Regions from separate parts of the Homo sapiens genome. Here all the other regions are linked to region 3. Evidence: promoter capture Hi-C in 16 types of primary human blood cells and fetal thymus (Javierre and others, 2016). All regions are on one chromosome and are shown on one strand. Each heading gives the region's core, a stretch centred on a gene start or on the middle of the fragment in contact. The rest is flanking DNA. Distances are from core to core; before and after follow the strand shown.

Evidence for each region. The method cuts DNA at HindIII sites, captures the fragments that hold promoters and counts their contacts. A CHiCAGO score of 5 or more calls a contact.
Region 1: a contact is called between a fragment that was not itself captured here and the fragment with the promoter of INPP1 in region 3, in 1 of 17 cell types (neutrophils). The highest score is 10.0, in neutrophils.
Region 2: a contact is called between a fragment that was not itself captured here and the fragment with the promoter of INPP1 in region 3, in 1 of 17 cell types (monocytes). The highest score is 5.2, in monocytes.
Region 4: a fragment that was not itself captured here is called in contact with the fragment with the promoter of INPP1 in region 3 in 1 of 17 cell types (neutrophils); the score reaches 8.9 in neutrophils.
Region 5: the fragment with the promoter of STAT1 here is called in contact with the fragment with the promoter of INPP1 in region 3 in 2 of 17 cell types (activated CD4 T cells and non-activated CD4 T cells); the score reaches 6.0 in activated CD4 T cells.
Region 6: a contact is called between a fragment that was not itself captured here and the fragment with the promoter of INPP1 in region 3, in 1 of 17 cell types (neutrophils). The highest score is 6.1, in neutrophils.
Region 7: a contact is called between the fragment with the promoter of WDR75 here and the fragment with the promoter of INPP1 in region 3, in 6 of 17 cell types (monocytes, non-activated CD4 T cells, total B cells and 3 more). The highest score is 13.6, in monocytes.

Annotation. Positions count from the first base shown.
Region 1 is chr2:189,695,621-189,699,152 of GRCh38, reverse strand. ANKAR (ankyrin and armadillo repeat containing) reads right to left here. Exons shown (of 23, transcript NM_001378068.1): 7 at 2,784-3,003. Among named protein-coding and RNA genes, the nearest start is that of ANKAR, 23 kb to the right of the region's middle. The HindIII fragment of the contact is 3,751 bases long and covers 273-3,532 here.
Region 2 is chr2:189,747,490-189,751,405 of GRCh38, reverse strand. It overlaps OSGEPL1 (O-sialoglycoprotein endopeptidase like 1), which reads left to right. Exons shown (of 9, transcript NM_022353.3): 8 at 750-856. The coding sequence ends at 828. It also overlaps a transcript of ANKAR not described here. Among named protein-coding and RNA genes, the nearest start is that of OSGEPL1-AS1, 13 kb to the left of the region's middle. The HindIII fragment of the contact is 788 bases long and covers 1,106-1,893 here.
Region 3 is chr2:190,342,329-190,346,060 of GRCh38, reverse strand. INPP1 (inositol polyphosphate-1-phosphatase) reads right to left here and starts at 2,472. Exons shown (of 7, transcript NM_001128928.2): 1 at 2,100-2,472. It overlaps LOC124906109 (serine/arginine repetitive matrix protein 1), which reads left to right and starts at 1,012. Exons shown (of 1, transcript XM_047446773.1): 1 at 1,012-3,732. The coding sequence starts at 1,745. The coding sequence ends at 2,623. RefSeq lists silencers at 1,777-2,106, 2,177-2,486. The HindIII fragment of the contact is 2,404 bases long and covers 812-3,215 here.
Region 4 is chr2:189,651,319-189,654,929 of GRCh38, reverse strand. No RefSeq gene overlaps it. Among named protein-coding and RNA genes, the nearest start is that of ASDURF, 8.3 kb to the left of the region's middle. The HindIII fragment of the contact is 5,241 bases long and covers 1-3,611 here.
Region 5 is chr2:191,012,307-191,015,887 of GRCh38, reverse strand. It overlaps STAT1 (signal transducer and activator of transcription 1), which reads left to right and starts at 1,717. Exons shown (of 25, transcript NM_007315.4): 1 at 1,717-1,870; 2 at 2,210-2,363. RefSeq lists enhancers at 297-346, 1,125-1,204, 1,235-1,434, 2,045-2,364, 3,476-3,535 and 1 more and silencers at 1,485-1,724, 1,755-1,954. The HindIII fragment of the contact is 15,587 bases long and covers 1-2,975 here.
Region 6 is chr2:189,587,806-189,591,650 of GRCh38, reverse strand. No RefSeq gene overlaps it. Among named protein-coding and RNA genes, the nearest start is that of SLC40A1, 8.9 kb to the right of the region's middle. The HindIII fragment of the contact is 6,560 bases long and covers 1-3,845 here.
Region 7 is chr2:189,439,638-189,443,367 of GRCh38, reverse strand. WDR75 (WD repeat domain 75) reads right to left here and starts at 1,894. Exons shown (of 21, transcript NM_032168.3): 1 at 1,790-1,894. The coding sequence starts at 1,875. It also overlaps a transcript of COL5A2 not described here. RefSeq lists enhancers at 1,449-1,498, 1,519-1,748, 1,769-1,898, 2,159-2,378, 2,399-2,558 and 1 more. The HindIII fragment of the contact is 5,353 bases long and covers 1-3,730 here.

The sequences.
Region 1 (3,532 bases), core at 899-3,398, 650 kb after region 3:
TAAAATGTACACCCCTCAAGAAAAATTTCCTGAGCACCTATGAAGGCCAAGCGTTTTTCTGGGTGTTAGGAAACTGTGGCTAACAAAACAGACCAAATCCTTGTCCTTTATGGAGCTTTATATTCAAGTGAGGGAGACTAACTAACTAAATAAATTTATATAAGGTAGCCATAAGTGATACTTAGAAAAGAAAAAGAGAGAGCAATAATGTAGGAGGCACACTATTGTTACTCAACTGGAAATTTCTACAGGGCGGATGGGACAGGTAAGCTTCCTTTTTTCCCGCTCCAGTTCCACTCACCTCCTTTACCACCCTGGCTCTCCTGCACCTGCAGAAAAAGCAACCTGTGTCCTCTGGCTCCTTGTCAGTATCTGCCAATGGATAGCTCTGGCAGGAGATTGGAGGAGGAAGAATGAGGTCGGGCTCCCTCTCTGAGGTCATCTCAGGTTTGCTGTGCTCCTCCTCTAACGGAAGATGGCCAATTTGAGTAACTATCCCCTCCCCCTTGACAATTCAGTTCGTTGTACGTAATTTCTTTAAAACAAAAGCCTTTCTGAATTCTCTTATACAGAGTATGAAGGTATAGCCTCTTAAATATAGACAAAGAAAGTATAACCTCTTAACATTTTGTTTTTCTCCATATCCAACATTGAGGTTAAGTCTACTACCTCAGTCAAAAACGACTCATTCCTCAGACCTCACAGATTGTTACTGCCACTAGATGGCAGCCTATCTAATTTATATTATAATAACTTTTTTTTTTTTAAGTTGTAGAAACCACTTGTGGGCCTGAATTTATAAAAAATAAAGGTGACAGCAAATTCCACAGGAAAAAAAGAGAAAACTCCCCAAACTGAAGAGGAATACCAATAAATAACTATGAGTAGAAAGTAATTTATGCTTCAAAATGAATACAAAACATCATTATGCAACATTCTGATGCAACAGTATTTTAGAGATTATATACTATAAGAAAAGTTCTAATATATGCAATAGCCTTTTTAAATGCACCAAATACTTTATTTATGTCTTACCATTTCTTTCCTTTTTTACCTCTACTTTGGATGACTCTGTTTTAAAAGGGAATGCACATAGAAGTATGATCATTAATATACAGCAGTTTCCTAAGTTGTTCAAGAAGACTCATATGAATAAGAACAAAATGACTATGTAGATGTATCTGGCAAGATTACATCGAACAGTGTTGAGAATAACTTTTGGTCAAGTCATCCAGGCATGTCATATGCAACCTGACAACGCATTAAAAGCAGACCTGGAAACTCTGCCCCCCAAATGGCTGCTTAAAACTCACAGGTGGGACAATTTTGTGTTGGTTAAGCAATAATATTGGAAGTAGAGTACTATGTTTTCCACACTTCAAAATCTACCTAATTCTCAGCAAATGGAAACTCAAGCAGTCAGAGGGCGCATGAGAAACTTTTAATTTATCAAAGACTTTTTCCACACTAAAAAAGGCTTAAAGTAATACATCTTTAAATAGTGTTACCTATTGCATTTAAATGTGATTGAATTGTGTCTTATTTTAATTAGGTTCATTATGTATTATGTATTGAATATTTTCAGTAACAGAAGAATCTGAATATCAAAACATTTTAATCATACTGATAGAGTACAGAATTTATGGATATTCAATACGGTTAAAGCAAAACATTTTGTTTTGGCGTCTGTAAAAATTTAACATAGCTTATTAAGATAGCTGACTTCATTAAATATAAAATCACCACTTCTTATTGCCAATATTGTTGCATTGGCCATTCCTGACAATTTACATATATATGTACATATATATGTGTAACCTCAAACTCCTGGGCTCAAGCAATCTTCCTGCTTCAGCCTCTCAGAGTAGCTAGGACTACAGGCGTGTACCACCAAGCCTGGCTAAGTTTTTTTTTTTTTTAATTTTATGGGCAGGGGGTCTCGTTATGCTGCCCGGGCTCATCTTGAACTCCTAGTCTAAAGTGATCCTCCAGCCTCAGCCTCCCAAAGTGTTGGCAAGACAGTAGTGAGCCACTACACCTGCCCCTGACAATTTATCTATATTTTCCTTTCCAGTTATGGAGGGCCACCAATTTCATTTTCAACTCTGTTTTTATTCTAGCTAAATTTATTTCAATGATTATAAAATATCCATGCATATTTAATAATCACAAAAATAGCTTTTAAAGTTTAAATGAGGTTAACCTTAAAGGGGCTATTAATGCTAAACATTATTATGATAAAGAAATTTTTTGTTATTAAATGTAATTTAAATATATGTAATATAAAGAAACTATTCCCTGTTTGAGGATCCTGGAATAAAGAATGATTGTTCTACTGGGACCTGACAGTCATATCTATTGCTGTTCTCTGAATTTCTATAGTATATCAGTGTATATTAATTTTGCCAGTGCTTATCAAATGATATCCTGCCTTCACCCATCCATGCATTAACTCAACAAATATTTTCTGAGCAACCATTAAGCCACACTTTCATCTGGACATTAGTATACCACGGCAAATAAAGTAGGCTAAATCTTTGCCCTCTTATAGAGCTTATACTCAAATGAAGGAGACACAATGAGCAAATATAAAACCATATAAGCTAGCTATAAGTGATACTTAGAAAACTAAAAGAAGCCTTTCTTAGATAAATGAAACAAAAACCTCAACTTTGCTCTAGTTAATACCAAATTTTAACCTGCTCTAAAATCAACGTGCATTCCTAATGCTGAGTAAGGGTAAATAAAATAACAACATTTTAGGTTAAAAAACTTTATGGTACCTTGGCTGAACGTAACAAAGCGCCTCTGGTTGACCTTGAAGTTAGCATTGCACAGTTGACATATAATAGAAACTCTGTTGTGCAGGGCAGCATGATGAAAAATAGTATAACCTGCTTCATCTGAAACATTGATTGTTGAGCTTGAGGTTTTACGGCTAAATGTGTGGAAAACTGCAGACAACCCTCTTTCAACAGCGGACTTCATACCAAATGGAATACTCTAAAATTAAGAAGGCCAGAATCAGTTTATCAAAATGCACCTAAAGTTTGGTTTAAGGAAAAAAATACATGAAGTGTATTAACAGAATCACATGAATGCTGTTAAAATTAAGTAGAATTTTCACAAGATCCATGCATGGAAAGTTTCTTACTGGATAATGATTAAAGTAGTTAGAGCTATAAGCAAATATTAAGAATTTAAAAAATATTTTGGGGAATTTTTTATTATTAATTTTTTTCTAAAATATTTTAAAAGCAAATGGAGATCATTGGGTTCCTTCTCTGATTTAAGAAAAACCTAATTCAGAAGTCTAGAAATTTGAAATATATAGCTGTAGAAATACAGTTTGTCATCCAAAGGTAAAAATGTCACCCTCTTTAGACATTCTGACTAATATTTAAAAATTCAACTAACAAATTTTTGAGGTTTTAATTTGTGGACGTGAAAACAAATAAATGGAAAGTAAATACCAGTCTAACCTTTGAAGCTGGTGAGCTTCTTTGCTCAGTTCCAGAAGCTGTACTTCAAG
Region 2 (3,916 bases), core at 250-2,749, 590 kb after region 3:
TGCTATATATGAATTACATGTATGCTGATGATGAATGAACTGAATTGAGTTAGTAGTACCGGAAGGCATCCCTTTGATACCTTGTCTCAGATAGAGTATATCCTCTGATTCAGTTATGCCCCCTTGTGGCAGTGTTGAGGCTGGAGATAATGGCTTTTTCCAGGTTGGGATTCAGTCAAAGCAAAGCCTTATCTTGGACACCATGGTAGAAAAGCAGAAATCTGAAGCAAAAATTAGTTACTGAGGAGGAACAGAAAAAGACAGCAGGAACTAAGACCTCTTTGGCTAGTAATGGCAAAGGATGGTAGAAAAGGGGCAAGGCAGCTTTTGAAACTTCAGAGAAGAACCTATAGAAACCTAGGACATTTCTAAAATGTGAATGGATACAGGTTTGACTTTAGCTGTGTGGCAAAAATGTTTTTACCTTTTTAGCTTTGTAGAGAATTATAAGATATTTTTCATTATTTTTATATTTCATTTTATGTTTTTAACTTATTTACAGTATTTGAGAACAGCAAAACTGTTTCTTTCAAAAATATCTCAAAATTTAGATTTCTTATTAATGAGACTAGCTTTCATTATCCTGACTTGAGGTCCCAGTATATTTGTAAGTATTTAAGAATCATCACCACATATGATGAATTAAATATTTGATATTTATACCATCAGAATTCTAAGCAAATAGTCTGCAGAACTAGTGATGGATCATGAAGCAAATAAATAATACGATTTGTCTGCTTATGATGTAGATGTCCTCTTGGAGTAGACATATCAAAAGAAGTTGGAGAAGCTTCCATAAAAGTACCACAATTAAAAATGGAGATATGATTTCTGCTGTTCAAAAAAGTCCCTAAAGGTAGTATTAAGGTTAAAATTAAGTTTTTATTGTTTTGTGTATCAAATTGTAGAAGATATATAATATTAATTATTCATCAAGATTTTATTTTTTTTTTTCTATTTGATGTTTTACCTGCTCTTCTGAGATACTATAATGTGTTAAAAGTCTTACAAGGGAAGATAGTTTTTTTCTTTTAATTATTAAAAACCAAAATAAAACATCTTTTGAGAAAGGAATGTATTGATGCTGGCAGGTAGAAAGGAAGCTTTGAAAGAAGCACAGTAATTTTGCTGAATTCTGGCCCTGTATCATACAGGCCTAGGACTTTCCCCCACTTCCTCAAATCAGGATAGGAGAAGCTATTTTTTAACTCCTACTGAAACAAGAACCTGACTTTATAATGAGAGAGCAGTTTAATTTTTTTTTATCATTATTATTTTTTGGAGATAATCTCCCTCTGTCACCCAGGCTGGATTGCAGTGGCGTGATCTCAGCTTACTGCATGCAACCTCTACCTTCTGGGTTCAAGCGATTCTCCTGCTTCAGCCTCCTGAGTAGCTGGGACTACAGGAGCCCACCACCACGTCTGGCTAATTTTTTGTTTTTTTAGTAGAGATGGGGTTTCACCATGTTGCCCAGGGTGGTCTTGAACTCCTGAGCTCAGGCAATCTGCCTGCCTCAGCCTCCCAAAATGCTGGGATTACAGATGTGCTCAAGAGAGCAATTTTAGATCAGTCATGTCAAAGCAGACATTTCCAAATCAAGACAAAAGCTGACTTTCTCTAACATAATATGTTATTAATTTTAAGAGTTCGTTATTAGGTATCATCTCTGGAGTAAATAGGATGTCTATGCATTTTTTAAAATCTATATAATTTGAGGTTTTACAATTTTAACATATAAGTAATCCCTCAAGTATGTATTGTACGCTTTAGTTGTCCACATACTTTCACATCAGTTATTTGAGAAATTGTATATAATCAGATGGAAATAAATGAGGGAGTTTTTTTGGATTTTTTTTTAATCCAAACTTTGTACTGCAAATATTATAAGCTTATCACTGTTTTTCTGCCTTGATTAAAGTAACTAAATGTACAATTCTTTGAATGTAACCCTCTATATCTGGAGGCCTTTCTCATACATAATTTTTTATTTCGATTTTTATAGACAGCATCTTGCTATGTTGCCCAGGCTGGAGTAGAACTCCTAGGCTCATGTAATCCTCCAACTTCAGCCTCCAGGGCCTGACTTTTCACACATTGTTTAAAAAAAAAAAAACCGTGGAGTAATAAAAATAATCTTTTTTTTTTTTTTTTTTTTTTTAGACAGAGTCTCGCTCTGTTGTCCAGACTGGAGTGCAATGGCTCGATCTCGGCTCACTGCAACCTCCGTCTGCCAGGTTCAAGCAATTCTCCTGTCTCAGCCTCCCGAGTAGCTGGGACTACAGGCAAGCACCACCATGCCCAGCTCATTTTTTGTATTTTTAGTAGAGATGGGGTTTCACCATGCTGGCTAGGCTGGTCTCGAACTCCTGACCATGTGATCCACCCGCCTTGGCCTCCCAAAGTGCTGGGATTACAGGTGTGAGCCATCATGCCCAGCCAATAAAAATAATCTTTATAGGGGAGATTTATAGGAGAAGTAGTATAAATTTTAGGAGTGGTAGGATGGTCTGGCTAGGCCAAGATACTCAGGAAATATCTGGCATTGAATGCAAAGAAACTCTGATAACCTGAAAATAGTCCTAAAGTATAGTCTTGAGCCTACCTGAAACCAGTTTCAGAGCTCAAAAGTTGCTCTCTAAAGGCTTTTAAAAATATCTACAGAAACTTAATATTTCCATTGTTATAAATTCTTATCCTTAATGGTGCTGGATAACACAATTCATCACTTGAATATGTATCCCTTTCTAGTATAAAATAGACCATTTCCCTCCGCATTTCCTATATTTCAGTCAATCCACCAGAAAGTTGTGACTCAGCACCATTAAGATAATTTAGAAGTAAATATGAAGATTAAAGAGGTCTCTTATTTTTTAGTGGTTAAGAACACAAACTTTGCATGGTAGCTCATCCTAATGCTTTGGGAGGCCAAGGGAGGAGGATCACTTGAGGCCAGGAATTCGGGACCAGCCTGGGCAACATAGCAGAGACCTCAGCTTCCTGAGTAGCTAGGGCTACACGCCTGTACCACCACACTCAGCATAACAAAGACTGAGAACCTGTAGCCCTAGCCACTCAGGAGGCTGAGGTGGGATGATTGCTTTGAACCCAGGAGTTATAGGCTACAGTGAGCTATGATTGCACTATTGCCGTCCAACCTGGGTAACAGAGCAAGACCCTGTCTTAAACAGACAAATAAATAAATAATAATTCATTCACCCACTCACTCACCCACTGACTTTGGACTCTAGCACATAGAAAGCCCTAAGTACATATCGGGGAAAATAACCGCTAATTAATATATACTTTCAATGCTTACTGCAGCCCAGGTAGAGAATGGATTATAGCAAGACCCTCAGACTGTATGGAGGCAATTCAGCAAGTGGATGGAGAAAAGGGGAGCTTTAAAGTACACAGTGAAGCCAGGCGCAGTGGCTCATACCTGTAATCCCAGCACTTTGGGAGGCCAAGGTAGGCGGATCACCTGATGTCAGGAGTTCAAGACCAGCCTGGCCAACATGGTGAAACCTCATCTCTACTAAAAATACAAAAATTAGCCAGGTGTGGTGGCAGGCGCCTGTAACCGCAGCTACTCAAGAGGCTGAGGCAGGAGAATTGCCTGAACCCAGGAGGCGGAGTGAGCCAAGATCCTGCCACTGCACTCCAGCCTGGGTGACAGAGCAAGACTCCATCTCGAATAAATAAATAAATAAGTAAGTAAGTAAAATAAAGTACACAGTGAAGCCAGGTGTTTGTATCATATCTATCTGCAGCTATAAAATAGGAGAAGCAGACATTGCTATTTGAGCAAAGACATCATATGGTTCTAAGCCACAAAGACTATTACCCTTTCCAGTTGCAAACCAAAGACACTATAAATATGGAGAATGAGCAACACTGTTAGCCACAAAAGCCA
Region 3 (3,732 bases), core at 1,223-3,722:
ACATCAATCACAGGAGACGGGAAGCAGAACTTTTATTTTTTTAATTTTAACTTAATTTTTATTTTTTGAGATGAAGTCTTGCTTTGTCGCCCAGGCTGGAGTGCAGTGGCGCGATCTGGGCTCACTGCAACCTCTGATTCCTAGGTTCCAGGGATCCTCCAGCCTCAGCCTCCTGAATAGCTGGGACTACAGGTGCTTGCTACCACGCCTGGCTAATTTTTGTATTTTTACTAGAGACGGGGTTTCACCATGTTGGCCAGGCTGGTCTCGAACTCCTAACCTCAAGTGATCCACCTGCCTTGGCCTCCCAAAGTGCAGGGATAACAGGCGTGAGCCACCACGCCAGCCAGAGCCTTTATTTCTAAGCTCTCAGCCAAACACATTAACATAGTTTTATTAACTTCATTACAAGATTCAAAGTATTTTAACAAGAACATTCATAAGGACTCACATCGGGAAAAAGTGCTTATATACACCATCCTCACCTTTAAAAAATGAAGATGACGTTTGTTTTCATTGATCACTTTATATAACATAATTATCTTTTAAGCAATTTCTGTATAACATGAAATAGAATGAGACATTTTCTAACTGTTATTAGAGACAGAATTAAAAAGCAAAATAAATATATAATAACCTTTATAACTTTTGTCTCACAGGCCTTCTATGTCAAACAAGAAATTATCTTTTCATTTTTTTCAGGACTATAACAAGGAAAGCTATAATTTAAATCTATAATAAGGTATATCATTTTAAAGGGCATTAGTCAAAGCTGCAATTTCCAAGCAAGCGGTGGTTTAGTCCAAAAGCTTGAAAAGTGGTAGCTTATTCTACACAAAAAGTACAGTGTAACTCTATGTATTTGACATAATTCTCTTCATGACTAAGCTGACTTCAAAAGTAGTATAAAAATCCATAAAAACTTAAAAATAAAGTAGGCTCTACATAAGAATGGAAACAAATATCTGTATTGAAAAAATGAATTCTTCCATTGCCTTTATTTTTTCCCTTATGTTCTCTATTTTAAAAGGTAAGAATGAGATCACTTAGCTAATTCACCAATCAAGAGTAGTTCAGTGGATTACTTTCATCCTTATACTATTATCAAGTTGAGCAGGGCTGATCCTTATCAACTTTTCTGGCTTCAAAGCTAGGAATCAGTGTAAAAGGGCTAAAAAATCTTTTACTCAACAGATGGGATCCACTTAAGTGGTCTGTCCATACTTTTAACCCACTGTTCTTTTGAAGTGAACACCATCATACAGTGGGCAAACTTCTGCTTATTCAACACTTTAAAAATACCTTTAAAATGAGAAATCTCCAAAAAACAAGCCGTGGTTTCTTATAAGTGTTTTTCACAGATGTACTAAAGTAAGCGTTTCCTTTCACACTCTTTGCGCCTAACCGTCTACATGATAGGGCCAAACCCAGGTTAAATATTTTTTTCCAGCTACCACTCTGGACACACCAACTAATTATGCACACCTCACAAAACCACCTTTCAAAATGCAGAGAGAATTAACAGCAAGGAAGTAAAGATTTTTCTAAATATAGTCCCATCATATTTATTTCACACTCATCAAGTAGGTCACTGGAGGTAGCTGGCAGCTAGGGACACTCAGATGCATCTCTCAAAGCCAAGGCTGAGACCAAGGGGTCACTGACAGCTGCGCCATCTACCTGTTGCAGCTGGGCCACTGCTCTGGACAACTGTCAGATCAGCTTCTTCGTCCTACAAATACTAATGACTGGATTTTTAAAATCGTTGTTTGCCACCCTTTCTTCCCGCCCCCCAACCCCATCGGGCCGCTCGGGCAGGGCCAAGGGCGCCGCGGGACTCACGAGCTCCCCTCCGCGCTGGCTGCAGCGGCGATGCCGGGCATGCCTGGCCGGGCCCGGCCGGGGGCGGCCTCGCTGCCGGGGCAGGGACCTCGCAGGCCGGCGCGCAGAGGCGAGGAACCCTCCCGGCGCCATCGACTCACCTACCCGCGGAGAGGCGACGGCGCGCGCCGCTCACCAGCCCGGGCCCCAGATCCAAGGAGGAGGGGCAGCGGCGCGGGGACCCTGTGGTGGGTGTCGTAAGGAGGAAAACGTGTTACCTAAGCCGGGGATGAGGACAGAGCAGGAGGCAGCAGCCTTTCCCTCGAGAAACGGAAGCGGCGGGGAGCAGGAGGAGGAGGAGGCGCGGCCCGGGCGCGAGGTTAGGCGAGGGGCGCTGGGCGTGCGGCCGCAGGCGCGGCCAGAGGACGAGGGTTGGGGAGGACGGCGGAGGTCACGCGAGCGAAGGCGAAGCCCCGGCGACGCACGGCCCCGCTTGGCTCGGCACCGGATCCGAGCTTGGCCTCAGCCAGGCCGCCGCCCCCGGCTTTCCCGCGGGACCGCGGCGTGGAAACGCGCGCTGCCGCCTCGGGGCTCCCGGGACGCGCGGGCCCCCCACGCCTGCCCGAGCCGGGCGTCCGCGACGTCACAAGTGGAGCGCGATGATTCAGAGGGAGGGCCAGGAAGGGAAGGGCTCTGGGGTCAGCTTGGCCACGGCTGCTGTTTCCTTGTCGCCGCCCACGAATTCACTTTTAAATCTTCCTCCTCCATTCATCTGTACTCTCATAGGGGACTGCGGGTTTGACAGATGGGTTGGCAGCTGTGAAGATGGACTTCCTGCCAGTGGTATCCGGGTCCCACTGTTCTAATGGAAATGTCAGGTGTACTGGATGTTCCTCAAGACACAGCAGTGTCTCTGGGCCTTGCCTCTTAAGGAGTGGGCCTCGGGCCACCTGGACAGGAAGCGCATCAAGGGTGGGGAACTTATCTCTCTCCAGCCTTTGGTGCTGTGATACTCAGTGTACCTTAAGGATGGTTTGGGTTGAACCTAGGTAGGAATGGGTGTTGGTGGGCGGGGTGGGGGTGGGGGGAATAGAAACCTTAAAAGGGCAACACAAAGTTTTGAATAGAAGAGGCCAAGCAGCCTCGCCCAGAAGCTGATGTTTGTGAATGTACTGGGCCTTCTAAAGCGGCGCTTCACACACCTTTTCACTTCTTGGCACAGGTAGGAAAGGATGATATTACAAGGGTCAAAATGGGGGTAAACAGAAGAGGCTGCTCCTGCAGAAGGCTTCCTGCAGAAGCCCTTGCACTTGGAGGGCTGGGAAGACCCATGCTGTATCTGCATCCCTGTCATTCGTTTCACGGCATCCAGTTGGGAAGCTCTGCTTAAAGCTTTGTCTGGCACGTTTTCTTAGCTACATTTTTCCACTCCAGCTGAGACTGCCTCACTGAGTTGTCAACACTTGGTCTTCTTCAGCAGTGAGGAACCAACAAGACAGGAGGCTGGGTCAATACTCAACTTGGCAAACTCCAGGAAATGGTGCTTAAAACGTTTGGCTTCTTGAATGGAATTCATGGTACTGCTCCCAGCCTGCACCTGGGTTCTCCAACTTGAGACAATTTCTCCCCGCATCCCCCCACCCTTCCCTGGCTTTCACTCACTAGCAAGTGGGCTGCTTCTACTTTCTTTCTCACATTCATTTCTTAGGTCCATTCTCAGAGCGGTTAGGATTACTGTTTAATTAGCCTCATAATCATATCTATGATGGCAAAATCAAGAAACAATTTAAACATGATTCTTAAAAGTAAGGAGATAAATACCAGAGACATAGAAGGTGAAAGAATTTGCCTCTAGGAAGCAGGAATTTAAATTTGGGGAAGACAGGGTGGAGCAAGGGATATAAATCTAGT
Region 4 (3,611 bases), core at 25-2,524, 690 kb after region 3:
TGGAATCAGATTGGACATCATAACTTTCATTTTCTGTTCCTCACTGATTTTCACAAGGTATTTGTACTTTATCCTAGCAACCACCAAAAGTATAACGTTGCAAAGATATGATATCATCAAAAGAAATACAACTTGACCGAATGTTGAAGTGGTTGTTTTTATTTCTGTGGGGTCAGTGGTAACATTCCCTTCATCATTTACAATTGTGTTTTATTTGGATCATCTCTTTTTTCTTCTCTATTAGTCTAGCTAGTGGCCTATCTATTTTATTATTTTTTCAATAAACCAGCTCCTGGATTTTGTTGATCTTTTAAGTGGTTTTTCATGTTTTGATTTCCTTTAGTTCAGCTCTGATTTTTGTTATTTCTCATCTTCTGCTAGCTTTGCAGTTGATTTGTTCTTGCTTCGTTTTGTTTTTTTTGTTTGTTTGTTTGTTTTTTTTTTGGTATTTATTGATCATTCTTGGGTGTTTCTTGGAGAGGGGGATTTGGCAGGGTCATAGGACAATAGTGGAGGGAAGGTCAGCAGATAATCATGTGAACAAGGGTCTCTGGTTTTCCTAGGCAGAGGACCCGGCGGCCTTCCGCAGTGTTTGTGTCCCTGGGTACTTGAGATTAGGGAGTGGTGGTGATGACTCTTAACGAGTATGCTGCCTTCAAGCATCTGTTTAACAAAGCACATCTTGCACCGCCCTTAATCCATTTAGCCCTGAGTGGACACAGCACATGTTTCAGAGAGCAAGGGGTTGGGGGTAAGGCCATAGATTAACAGCATCCCAAGGCAGAAGAATTTTTCTTAGTACAGAACAAAATGGAGTCTCCCATGTCTACTTCTTTCTACACAGACACAGCAACAATCTGATTTCTCTTTCCTTTCCCCACACTTCCCCCTCTTCCACTTGACAAAACCGCCATCGTCATCATGGCCCGTTCTCAATGAGCTGCTGGGTACACCTCCCAGACGGGGTGGCGGCCGGGCAGAGGGGCCCCCCCACCTCCCAGACAGGGCGGCCGGGCAGAGGCGCCCCCCACCTCCCGGACGGGGCGGCTGCCGGGCGGGGGCTGCCCCCCACCTCCCTCCCGGACGGGGCGGCTGACCGGGCGGGGGCTGCCCCCCACCTCCCTCCCGGACGGGGTGGCTGGCTGGGCGGGGGCTGCCCCCCACCTCTCTCCCGGACAGGGCGGCTGGCCGGGCGGGGGCTGTCCCCCACCTCTTGGACGGGGCGGCTGCCTGGCGGAGATGCTCCTCTCTTCCCAGACGGGGCAGCTGCCGGGTGGAGGGGCTCCTCACATCCCAGATGGGGCAGCGGGGCAGAGGCGCTCCCCACATCTCAGACGATGGGCAGCGGGGCAGAGGCGCTGGGGAGCGCCTCTCAGACGATGGGCCTCTCATCTCAGAGGATGGGCGGCCGGGCAGAGACGCTCCTCACTTCCTAGACAGGATGGCGGCTGGGAAGAGGCGCTCCTCACTTCCCAGACTGGGCGGCCGGGCAGAGGGGCTCCTCACATCCCAGACGATGGGCGGCCAAGGAGAGACGCTCCTCGCTTCCCAGACGGGGTGGCGGCTGGGCAGAGGCTGCAGTCTGGGCACTTTGGGAGGCCAAGGCAGGCGGCTGGGAGGTGGAGGTTGTAGCGAGGCGAGATCACGCCACTGCACTCCAGCCTGGGCAACATTGAGCTCTGAGTGAGTGAGACTCCGTCTGCAATCCTGGCACCTCGGGAGGCCGAGGCTAGCAGATCACTCGCGGTTAGGAGCTGGAGACCAGCCCGGCCAACAGGGTGAAACCCCGTCTCCACCAAAAAAATACCAAAACCAGTCAGGCCTGGTGGCGTGCGCCTGCAATCACAGGCACTCGGCAGGTTGAAGCAGGAGAATCAGGCAGGAGGTTGCAGTGAGCCGAGATGGCGGCACTACAGTCCAGCCTCCGCTGGGCATCAGAGGGAGACTGTGGAGAGAGAGGGAGAGGGAGAGGGAGACCGTGGGGAGAGGGAGAGGGGGACGGGGAGGGAGCTGTTCTTGCTGCTTTGATTCTTTCAGTTGTGATGTTAGGTTATTAGAGATCTTTCTAACTTTTTGATTTGGGCATTTAGTGTTATGAATTTCCCTGTTAACATTGCCTTATCTGTGTCCCAGAGAATCTGGTATGTTGTATCTTTGTTCTTGTCATTTCCAAAGAACTTCTTGATTTCTGCCTTAATTTCATTATTTACCCAAAAGTCATTCAGGAGCATGTTGTTTAATTTCCATGTAATTGCATGGTTTTGAGTGATTTTCATAATCTTGACTCCTATTTTTATTGTGCTATGGTCTAAGAGTGTGTTTGGTATAATTTCAGTTCTTTTACATTTGATGACATTTGTTTTTTGTCCAATTATGTGGTCAATTTTAGAGTATGTGCCACGTGAGGATGAGAAAAATGTATATTCTGTTGGTTTTGGGTGGAGAGTTCTGTAAAGGTCCATTAGATCCATTTGGTCCAATGCTGAGTTTAAGTCCTGAATATCTTTGTTAATTTTCTGCCTTGATGATCTGTCTAATATTGTCAGTAGGGTGTTAAAATTTCCCATTATTATTGTGTGGGAGTCTGTGTCTCTTGCTAGGTCTCCAAGAACTTGCTTCATGAATCTGGGTGCTCCTGTGTTGGGTGCATATATTTAGGATAGTTAGGTCTTTTTGTTTAATTGAAACGTTTATCATTCTGTAATGCCCTTCCTTGTCTTTTTTGAACTTTGTTGGTTTGAAATATGTCTTGTCTGAAGTTAGGATTGCAACTGCTGCTTTTTTCTGTTTTCCATTTGCTTGGTAGATTTTCCTCCATTCCTTTATTTTGAGGCTATGAGTGTCATTACATCTCAGATGGGGCTCTTGAAGATAGCATACCATTGGGTCTTGGTTTTTTATCCAGCTTGCCACTCTGTGCCTTCTAACTGTGGCATTTAGCCCACTTACATTCAAGGTGAGTATTGGTATGTGTGGATCCTGTCATTGTGCTGTTAGCTGGTTATTATGTGGGCTTATTTGTGTGGTTCCAGCATATACAATTTAACAATTAGCCGGTTTCAGAAGGCTCCAGCTGCCGCTGACCCTAAGGCTACATTTTTACTAGAATAATAATAGAATAGATAGAGTTAAAGGGTCAAAGGGCATGGGAAGTTTTTGGCTCGTATTTATCTTGTAAGATTGTTGCTACTTGTTAAATTTCGCTTTGTGATCAATATTGCTCTTGGTTTGATTTCTATTTATTTATTTGAAAAATAAGAATGGTATATATTTGTAGAGTACAATGTGATGTTTTGATATATGTATATATTGTGGAATGGCTAAATCACATTGATTAACATATCCATTATCTCACATTTATTTTTATGTGGTGAGGACACTTAAAATCTACTCTCTTTGCATACATGAAGTATACAGTACATTGTTATTAACTATAGTTTCATATTGTGCAATAGATCTCTTGAACTTATTTCTCCTGTCTAACTGAAATTTTGTATCCTCTGACCAACATCTCCCCAAATCCTCCCCATGTCCCTTATCCTCTGATAACTACCATGCTACTCTCAGCTTCTATGAGTTTGACTTTTTTAGATTCTATGTGTAAGTCAGAT
Region 5 (3,581 bases), core at 468-2,967, 670 kb before region 3:
TTCTTGGGTGAGTAAGAGCAGAAGGGACACTTTTGGTGCCGTGGCATCTCTTGGCAGAGAAGTCTAATTTCACTGCTAACTTGCTTTGTGAGGGTGCATTTGTGACAAGAAGAACAAATAGATGTGCAAAGAAAAAAAACTCATACACACACATATAGGCATATCCATGGGAAATTATTCAGATCCTTCTCCTACCCCAAAGTGCCTAATTATTCAAGGCTTGACTCAAATCCCGTCTACTTGAAGGAACTAATTGATTTTATGAGCATATAGTCCAAAAAGATTTAGTTTGTCTGGCTTCAGCAATGCCTACCTGGAGAAGTGACATTTAAGCTGAGATTTTTAAACTAAGATCTAAAAGATGAGTTAGCCAGCGAAGAGTTGGGTGAAGCAGATGTTGGCTCAAGGGGTTTTCCAAACTCAGGGTGAGAAGTCCCTGAGTTTGGAGAGTGTGGTTTATTTGAAGAACTAAATGCTGAAGTAAGCAAAGCAGAGTGGCACATTATGGGGTTGGACAAAGAGATCGGGCAACCAGGGCTTTATAGTATGTATTAAGAAACTGAATTTTATAAGAGCAAAGAAAAGCCATGGAAGGATTTTCAGGTTGGCAAATGACATGATCTGCTTTTCAATTAAAAAAAAAAACACTCAAACTCTTGTATGGAGAATGGATTAAAAGGTAGATAAGGGCTGAAGTGAGGCAGCCATTCGGGAATCTACTGCAGAAGGAGGCAGCAGAAGAGATGGAGCAGAGTAAATGAGACTTGGGAAATATTTAGGAGGAAGAATCAATTAAGATTTGAGGATCAGGTGTTGCGAGGTGAGGGAGAAGGCAATGTCAACTATGAATCCTAGGTATCTGTCATGTGCCATTTCTAGAAAAAGAGCAGGTTTGAGGAGAAAGATGTTTGGTTCTGAACATAGTTTGTAGAGCTCACTGCACATACAAGTGGAGAGGCAAGTGGGAGTTGTAGGTGTGAAGCCCAGAGGAGAGGTGTGGACGGGATAAGCATTTAAGACTCCTCCATCTAGAAGGAAACTGAAGCTGTGGGTGAGGTCATCACAGCACAGCGTTTAGGAGAAGCCCAGGTAAAGAAGCTGACGAATGTCTGGACCCTGACAACCTTAACATATAATGGTTTGATAGTGGAGGTGGAGGCAATGTAGAAAGAATGCCAGAGGCAGGAAAAAGCAAGAAGGATGTGTTATCATCATGACCAAGGAAGAAACGTGTTTCAAGAACAAAGGCGTCAACTCTGCCCCATGCTTCCGAGCTGTCAAGTAAAGTGAGAAAAACAGAAAAGCGTTCCCTGGGTTTAGCAACACGGAGGTCAGTTGCTAAAGGGAGCTTCTAGAATGACGACGTCGCCAAATCTGTCCTCTGCCTGGATTCTCGGCGATGAAACTACTACAGAGACCTCCAAGTTTGGGCTTCTGCAAACACAGCACGTCCTTCTGATCGTTCTCTAAGATATGTAAACAGAACGCCAGTTCCCAGCGTGGCAACACGGGACTGGGCTGCAGCTCACCCAGCCGGCGGCCCCCGCCGGAAGCCGGCGGAAATACCCCAGCGCGTGGGCGGAGCAGCGGCCCGCAGAGGGAGGCGGTGGCGCCCACGGAACAGCCGCGTCTAATTGGCTGAGCGCGGAGCCGCCCGGTGATTGGTGGGGGCGGAAGGGGGCCGGGCGCCAGCGCTGCCTTTTCTCCTGCCGGGTAGTTTCGCTTTCCTGCGCAGAGTCTGCGGAGGGGCTCGGCTGCACCGGGGGGATCGCGCCTGGCAGACCCCAGACCGAGCAGAGGCGACCCAGCGCGCTCGGGAGAGGCTGCACCGCCGCGCCCCCGCCTAGCCCTTCCGGATCCTGCGCGCAGAGTGAGTGGCCGTGAGGTTCCGGGTGCCGGGGGTGGGACGCGCAGGGACAGAGTCCTCGGGCCGTGCAGTTGGACGCCGGGCGAGGACGGGCCGTCTGTGCTGACCCGCGAATAGTGATCCCAGAGGAAGAACGCGTCCTGAGTATTCCAAGTGCGAGCAGTGCCACCTGTTCTCGGAGATGGCACTGCTCAGCACGATTGTCCTTGCCAGTCGTGCTCTGGCAGTGAAGAGGACTTGTGAAATATAATTTTCCTCTAGAAGGCACTGCACCTTCCCATTTACCGTCACTTTCTCCCGTTTCCACCCCTTTCCATCAGTCACGTTTTCTTCTTTTCGCAGAAAGTTTCATTTGCTGTATGCCATCCTCGAGAGCTGTCTAGGTTAACGTTCGCACTCTGTGTATATAACCTCGACAGTCTTGGCACCTAACGTGCTGTGCGTAGCTGCTCCTTTGGTTGAATCCCCAGGCCCTTGTTGGGGCACAAGGTGGCAGGTCAGTAAATGTTCATGGAATCAGATGAATGAGTACATGACTTCGGAATCTTAATTATGTTTCTATGTTCAAAGATGGAAGGGCTTAATGTCTTCCTAGAGTTTAAAAGTGATGTTTAGTTTTTGCAGACCCCCCACCCCAAAATAATATAGTCTTAAAAAAATTTCTGGCCGGTACTGAAGAGTTCTGTGGTAGGTATGCAGAGGTGTGGTTGATTGTGCTTTGAATGTTGTTTGTATAGATAAGGAGTTATTTTCATAGAACAGAAACAGGACTTGAGCCTCCAGCACAGTCCATTGTGCAACCATTGCTTAATGAGGATGCTGGACTCACACTTGTGAGATCATAATATGGTTTGCTTTTTACTTTCTAATTCCGTCTGAAATATACATAATTTCAATTCAACAAACTGTTTCGAGCACATAGTATATGCAGGGCACTGTCCAAGGTCCATAAGATGTTAAAAAGCAAAATACCCCACTACTCTACCCCCTCCCCACCCACCTTCCCCCGCCGGGGACTCTGGAGGCATCACAGAGCTTTACAAGGAAAACTGGAACCGATGCTCTAATAGAGGTACAGAATTCAGTGAGACGCAAGTCAAAGAAAGCTTAATTGTGAGTAAGTCTCAGACAACTTTATGAAAGAAGGGGCTTTTGTACATAGCTTTGAATGCTATAGGATTTAGAGACGCAAAAATTTGTGGAGAGGCTGTTTCCAAGGGCGAGTAGCTGGAGCAAAGCAGAAATGTTGGGCACAGTTGAAAAACAGTAAATGATTTGGTGACTGGGTTGCTTTGTTGATGGATGAAGATGGGGTGGGGTGGAAATCTGCCTAGGAATGGACAGATCATAGGATTTTTGCACAGGAGATTGATGTGGTCCAATCTGTGGGCAGCAGAGGCTGGACTGGGAAGGTAGAATGTTGGAGACAGGAAGGAGCAGGTCTTGGGATGGAGTGGAAGGAATCAACCCTAAATCTGAGATTTGAGCTCAGTGACTGGGAGATGGCCATGCCACTCCCTGAGTTGGTAACAGGTTTTGTGAGTAGATGAGACTGACTCCAGATTTGTGAACATGAGCTTATTTATTCATTGTTTTTTTTTTTTAGAGACAGAGTCTCTCTCTGTCTCCCAGGCTGGAGTACAGTGGCGCGATCTCAGCTCACTGCAACCTCCGCCTCCTGGGTTCAAGCAATTCCCCTGCCTCAGCCTCACGA
Region 6 (3,845 bases), core at 482-2,981, 750 kb after region 3:
AGAACATACACTGGGAAAAGACGTTTTCTTCAATAAATGGTTCTGGGAAAGCCGGATATCCATATGCAGAAAAATGAAACTAGATCCCTATCTCTTACCATATACAAAATCAAATCAAAATGGATTAAATGCTTAAGTGTAAGTCCTGAAACTATGAAACTACTAAAAGAAAACACTGGGGAAATGTTTCAGGATATTGGTCTGAGTAAAGATTTTTTTGGGGTAATACCTTAAAATCACAGGCAACAAAAGCAAAAATAGACAAATGGGATTACATCAAGCTAAAGAACTTCTGCTCAGCAAAGAAAACAACATACAGGATGGGACAAAATAGCTGTAAACTATTCATCCAACAAGGGATTAATAACTAGAATATACAAATAACTCAAAACAACTCAACAGCAAATAAGTAAATAAATAAATCCAATTTAAAAATAATCAGATGATCTGAACAGACATTTTTCTTCTTCTTCTTCTTTTTTTTTTAGATGGAGTTTCACTGTTGTTGCCCAGGCTGGAGTGCAATGGCGTGATCTCGGCTCACTGCAACCTCCGCCTCCCGGGTTCAGGCAATTCCCCTGCCTCAGCCTCTTGAGTAGCTGGGATTACAGGCACATGCCACCACACCTGGCTAATTTTGTAATTTTAGTAGAGATGGGTTTTGCCATTTTCGTCAGGCTGGCTTTGAACTCCTGACCTCAGGTGATCCACCCGCCTTGGCCTCCCAAAGTGCTGGGATTACAGGCGTGAGCCACCATGCCCGGCCATGAATAGACATTTTTCAAAAGAAGAGATACAAATGGCCAAAAGTACATGAAAAAATGCTCAACATTACTAATCATAAAGGAAATACAAATCAAAACCACAATGAGATATCATCTCATCCCAATTAGAATGGTTATTATCTTCCTGATCAAAAAGACAAACAATAACAAATGCTAGTGAGGATGTAGAGCAAAGGGAATCCTTATACACTGTTGGTGAGAATGTAAATTAGTACAGTCATTGATATGGTTTGACTCTGTGTTCCCACCCAAATCTCACGTGGAATTGTATCCCCAGTGTTGGAGGAGGGGCTGGCGGGAGATGATTCAATCATTGGGGTGGACTTCCCTTTGCTGTTCTTGTGATAATGAGTGAGTTCTCATGAGATCTGGTTGTTTAAAAGTGTGTAGCACTTCCCCCTTAGCTCTCTATCTCCTGCTCTACCATGTGACGATTGTGCCTGCTTCCTCTTCACCTTCCGCCATGATTTTAAGTTTCCTGAGGCCTCCTCAGACATACCTCCTGTACAGCTTGCAGAACTGAGAGTCAATTAAACCTCTTTTCTCCATAAATGACCCAGTCTCAGGTACGTCTTTATAGCAGTGGGAAAATTGACTAATACAGTCATGGAAAACCTTATGGAGGTTCTTCAAAAAACTGAAATTAGAACTGCCATATGATCAAGCAATCCCACTGCTAGGTAATCAGTACATTGATGAGATATCTGCATGTCCATGTTTATTGTAGCAATAGTCATAATAGCCAAGAAATGGAATCACACTAAGTGTCCATCAACAGATGAATAGATAAAGAAAATGTATATGTATATATAAAACCACATATTATTCAGCCATAAAGAAGAATGAAATCCTGTCATTTGAGCAATATGGATGGAACTGGAGGACATTATGTTAAGTGAAATAAGCCAGGCATAGAAAATTATTGCATGTTTTCACTGATGTGGGAGTTAAAAAATGTTGATCACATGGAGGTAGAGAGTAGAATGGTGATTACTAGCGGCTGGGAAGAGTAGTGGGGAGTAAGGATGAAGAGAAGTTGGTTAAAGGGAATGAAAATACAGTTTAATAGAAAAAAATAAGTTCTAGTGTTTCATAGCACAGTAGGGTGGCTATAGTTAATAGTAATTTATTGTATACTTCAAAAGAGCTAGAAGAGAAGATTTATAATTTTCCCAACCTAGAGAATTGATCAATATTTAGGTGATAGATATCCCAATTATCCTGATTTGATCATTACACAATGTGTGCATGTATCAAAATATCACATGTAGCCCAGAAATATGTACATTCATTATGTATCAATCAAAAAAGGTCTAGATTAAATACCTGAAGGTTCTTCTTCCCTCTTTTAATTTCTAAACCAATTGATTACAGTAGAGAAGTTTTCTTTCTCTTGAGAGTGTGACAGAGTTATATAGGGACAATGTGAACAATATTTACACTCAGGGCTAACCTGGACATACATATATAGCTAAATTAATTAGAGAAAGATTTTGACCAGTAATCTTTGTAAGTATTCCTCAGAAATGCTTACCCACGCTTTTGTGTGTTGAACCATCAGTTTATATCTGTGGTGGAACTTTTAGGTTTAGTTGTGTAGCCAAACTGCCTTTGTTTGAATGTGTTTGGCAGAGAACTGGAAGTGTTAGTTATTTTGATCTTCTATATGAAGGCAATAGCTAGTTAATTTGACCAAAAGGCACAGTTAGGGCACTTCTGGGACATTTTTACAGTGGTGATTTTATATACTGCTATGGTTTGCAAAGCAATTTGAGACAAATGGCACTGATGAGAAGTCTCTGAAATATGTGAACACAAGAAGTCAGAAGAGTTGTCATATACTTGTGCTTTGAAAAATGTGAACAGCTTGAAAAGAGAAAAAGAACCAGATTTTCCCTAGGGCCAGATAGCACAATCAAGTAAAGGAAGATACCAATTTAATGCAGTTTGTGAGACTTTGGTGAGGAATTATTTCCTAAATATCCAATCATCAGCTCATTATCACCTCACAATAGGCAGATTAATACATTTAATTTGCTAGGATTACAGTCTTGTTTGAGTTGGTCAACTGCTTGTAAAGTGAGACATTTTTTAAAAAGTAGTACATGGCTCACACCTATAATCCCAGCACTTTGGGAGGCCGAGGTGGCGGATCACTTGAGGTCAGGAGTTTGAGACCAGCCTAGCCAACATAGTTAAACCCCATCTCTACTAAAAATACAAAAATTAGCTGAGCATGGTGGTGGGCACCTGTAATCCCAGCTACACAGGAGGCTGAGGCAGGAGAATCGGTTGAAACTGGGGGCGGAGGTTGCAATGAGCTGAGATTGTGCCACTACACTCCAGCCTGGGCGACAGAGTGAGACTCCATTTGAAAAAAAAAAAAGTAGTACAGAGGTACTTCTGTGACACAAATACAAACCTTTAACCATTTTACCATTGGTGTTCAACTTTACCTCAGATGGTCCACCTTATGAAAGACTGAACCACAACCATCATTCTATATCAGTACACATTAACCTTAAAGGCAGTAGGCTCCACATCATAAGGACAAACAAATTAGAAATCTCTAGAGTAATTGGTACTAAGAAGAAACTAAACTCATTTAATGATACACTACCTCCTTATAAACTGAAAATTATAGTCTAGGTGTTTTTTGTTTGCATTTTTAAATTAGTCAAAACATTAATGCTTTCTAATGTGATTTCCTAAGGTTGCTTTACTGTTTTTAATCAAAGGCTGGATCCATCTTAATGCTGAGGCAAATACAAAGTAGATTATACAAAAAACATATACCTCATGACCACAAGAAATTACATGTTGATCTTGCCACAGAATAATAAGAAGCCATGCCTGTGTATCAGAAAAAAAGGGCGGGGACAGACAAGGGGAAGCTCGCAGCCAGTGCTGGTGGAGACTCAGGTAAGCCTAAGAAAACAATCCGTGAAGAAGTTAAAACGAGCCTCAGCTGGACTTCCACAGTCAAATGAAACCTACATGTTCACAGACACATTCTTTGGGATTTATAACCTCAAAGATATTTTTGCCAATCAATTCTAG
Region 7 (3,730 bases), core at 645-3,144, 900 kb after region 3:
TGTACCAGCCTGTTCAACAGAAATCACTTCTGTCTTTCTTGCTTACACTGTCCTCCCCACCTGAAATGTCTTCTGTCCATATTCCCCACTTAAAATATCATCTAGGCCTAGCACAAATGTCATTTGCTCAGCAATCTTCTCCGTCCTTCTTAGTTTGGGAAGTAATCTCTTCTTATGAGCTCCTTCCTACAGGACCACAGTAAGAAAAATCTGTTACTGAGTATTCCTTTTCCTCACTAGACTGTAAGCTCCTCGAAGGCAGGATCAATATTAAAATTATCTTAGTTTTTGTCACTGCAGCATGTTATACATAATATATAGTTGACAAGTACTTAAAAAATGAATTGTTGGGCTTAGCAAATCAAACACACAATGGACCTCATTATAATGAATAAGGTATAAGAACAGTACTGGTTACATGGATATGAGTCCGAAGCGTCACAGTGTGACAGCCTCTTAAAGCCTGTTTCTTCCTTTGATTCATAAGATCAATGTCAACAAAGCCACAGGACTCATTTTTTTTTGGCTTCTAAGGCAATTTATAAAAGCTCTTTCAGTCATGCTTGCATTACCTTCAACAACTACCTGTCGTACACTCATATGCAGAATATTGTGGGGGTGGGCCGGGCACAGTTGCTCACTGTAATCGCTGCACTTTGGGAGGTTCAGGTGGGCAGATCACTTGAGGCCAGGAGTTCCAGGGCAGCCTGGCCAACATGGCGAAACCCTCTCTCTACTAAAAATACAAAAATTAGCGGGCGTGGTGGCCCGCGCTTATAATACTTGCTACTCAGGAGGCCGAGGCACCAGAATTGCTTGAACCAGGGAGGCGGAGGTTGCAATGAGCCTAGATTGAGCCACTGCACTCCAGCCTGGGTGACAGAGTGAGATTCTGCATCAAAAAAAAAAAAAAAAAAAAAAAAAAGAATATTGTGGAGGCTACAAACTTTCATAAAATACTATCTCTACTCTTCTAAGGCAGAAAGGGTTTTTTGATTTTATTAAGTGCCACCCTACCTAAAGTTATTTGAAAACCTGACAATACAGTAATAATGATTACAGCTACATACATTGAGCCATTATGTGCCGGGCATTGTTGTCTGTAGTTTTAACATATTGAGGCATTTAATCCTCCCAATAACCACGTGAGATGAACTAAATATTGTCCCCCTTTACAGATGATGGCAACTGAGGCAAAGATTAAGAAACTTACAAAGGTTTCATAATGTAAGAAGTGGATTTTGAAGCCAGGGAGTGGTTTGGTTTCCAGCTACACTGAGAAAAGAGACCAAGTCTTAGCGTATTTTTATCTCATAAAGAATCTAACATCTGTTTTCATGTAAAGTTCCGAAAAGACTGCACTATGCTTCATGCACTATGCTTCAGGAGTGAGGAGTGGGTAGAAAAAGCGGAATAGTTTTAGGTTTTAGTCACTCCAAAACATGATTCTGTACGAAAGAGTAGGTACTGCAAAGGTAGTGGCATACACATCCACCCCTGGACCATTTTCCAGCCGCCCGAACACCTTCCAGATCCTCGACACGGAGACCGGCTCCAGGGCCTTTATCTACCTGCAGGTAAACTGTCCAGGAATCGGGGGACGCAACCCAATCTGCAGTGGTAACGGGACCTCCCAGGTACCCTGGGGATCCCCCACAGGCGCGTGCTCTACCCAAAGCCGATATCCGCCAGGCGGGCGAGTCCGAACGCGACTGACAATTCCTTCTCCCCGACCCTCGAGAAACTCACGCCCCGCCCCTCAGCCGACAAAGCGCGGTGCCCCTCATACTTAGAATCTGCAGAGAACACAGCTCTCCTAAAGTTCAACTCGCTGCCGCCACAACGAACCACGCGGATGTTCTCCTCCTCCACCATCTTTGCGCAGTAGCGGAATGGCCAATCTCTGGTCCCGCCCTGAACTTCCTTCGTTGAGCCGGGTAATAAGGCTGTTCCCAGCCCACAGAACCCACCCCCGGGCCCTTCTAGGCCTGAGACTCGGTGGTAGGACTCCGCTTCCGTGCAGGCACCTTTTGTGTGGGCAATGTCAAACTAAGACACTTGTAAGAAAAGGTGAAAGCAAAACAGAGATTTAGAGACAATCAGTTTTTATTATATACCTATACACAATTATTTAATACAGACATATTTCTCTCAGGCCTTGTCAACCTGACTCTATGGCTTTTTCCGCCAGAAGGGAAAGGTGGCGTATAGTGTACCACGTGACCTCCAGTCGTCCCACCGGAGGCGTCGCTTTCTAGTGTCTGTGGTGTCGGCGCTGCAGGATGACGCGAGCCTCTCGCGTCCCTGGTTTTCTCGGTCGCAGCGTTGAGTTATTGGGTGGAAAGGTAGCTTTCTCTTCCTTGTACAGCTTTTTGTTCCTCTCATTAGCCGTTCTTCTGTTCTTGTGAACATCGCTTAGGTTACTACAGAATCTCCACAGTCCTAGGGCCTAGCTTTCTTCCTTTGGAAATCTGGCTCCTACTCCGGGATTCTGGTGCATCTTCCGCAGCGTTCAGTGTAGCTGCTCGGGCTAATCTGACATTCGGCCAGTCCCGCCAGGTTTCAGGGCGCTGGTCTCTGGTTTCCTGAGTTTTACCTTTTCCCATTAGTGAATAGAATCTGTGGGTTAGGAACCCCTAAAATCTCAACATGTTTATTTTTGCCAGTTTATCTCCAGTTTTCCTTTGTAAACTTACACGTATCATATTCTTGGACCCTGTATATTATGTTGCCTATTTTGATTTCGCTTCTTGATTTGTGGATTTACCACAAAATTACCAAGGTCTCAAATATAGTCACATGTCACATAAGGATCTTTCAATCAATGCATATAACATGGTGATTCCGTAAGATTATAATACTGTGTTTTTACTGTACCTTTTATGTGTTTAAATACACAAATACTATTCTGTTACAATTGCCTGCAATATTGAGTACAGTAACATGTTGTTCAGATTTGTAGCCTAGGAGCAATCAGCTATAACGTACAGCCTAGGTGTGTAGTAGGCTGTACCATCTAGGTTTGTGTAGGTACACTCTGTGATATTCACACAATGATGAAATCACCTAAAATGCATTTCTTAGAACATATCCCCATCATTAAGCCACACATGATTATACCTATAAGTTTATTTATGGTGGAGAAATACAATATTCACAAAGGTCAAGACATATCCTGGGACAGCACCACTGTAAAAATCAGGGATAAATTTACTTTTTACTGAGGAGTCTAGCTTATTAAAGTGCTCAAAACTTTATTATTTGGGGAGCCAGAACTAGAAAGGGAGATATTTAATAATTTTGGTTTATCTCAAGCTGTAACCAGCTTTCTCTTTCATGACTGTGATACCCTTTGTCACAGTGGATGGAGTGTAAAATATCACTTTTGATTCTGCAGCCTTAACCTCTTTTTGTTTAGTCTCTTGATGTATGCACAATAAATCTTTTAAAGACTTTGTTGGGTACTTTGTAACCTGATACAGGCTTTTCCTTAGGGCCTGAGCCAAGAAACAAAATAAATATTTTCACTCAAATTAGTGTGACTTTAGTTGTATGTTACTGTATGGTAACTTTAGATTTTTCAGAAAAGAATCAGAAATCCTGATATGGACAAAAACTAGCTGGATTGATAAATGTATAGGAGGATTATTTTACACAGAGTTTTAATTTACTGAAGTGCCCAGAAAGATAAGTCATTTGTATTTTGATTTCTTTTTACATAATTTTTAAG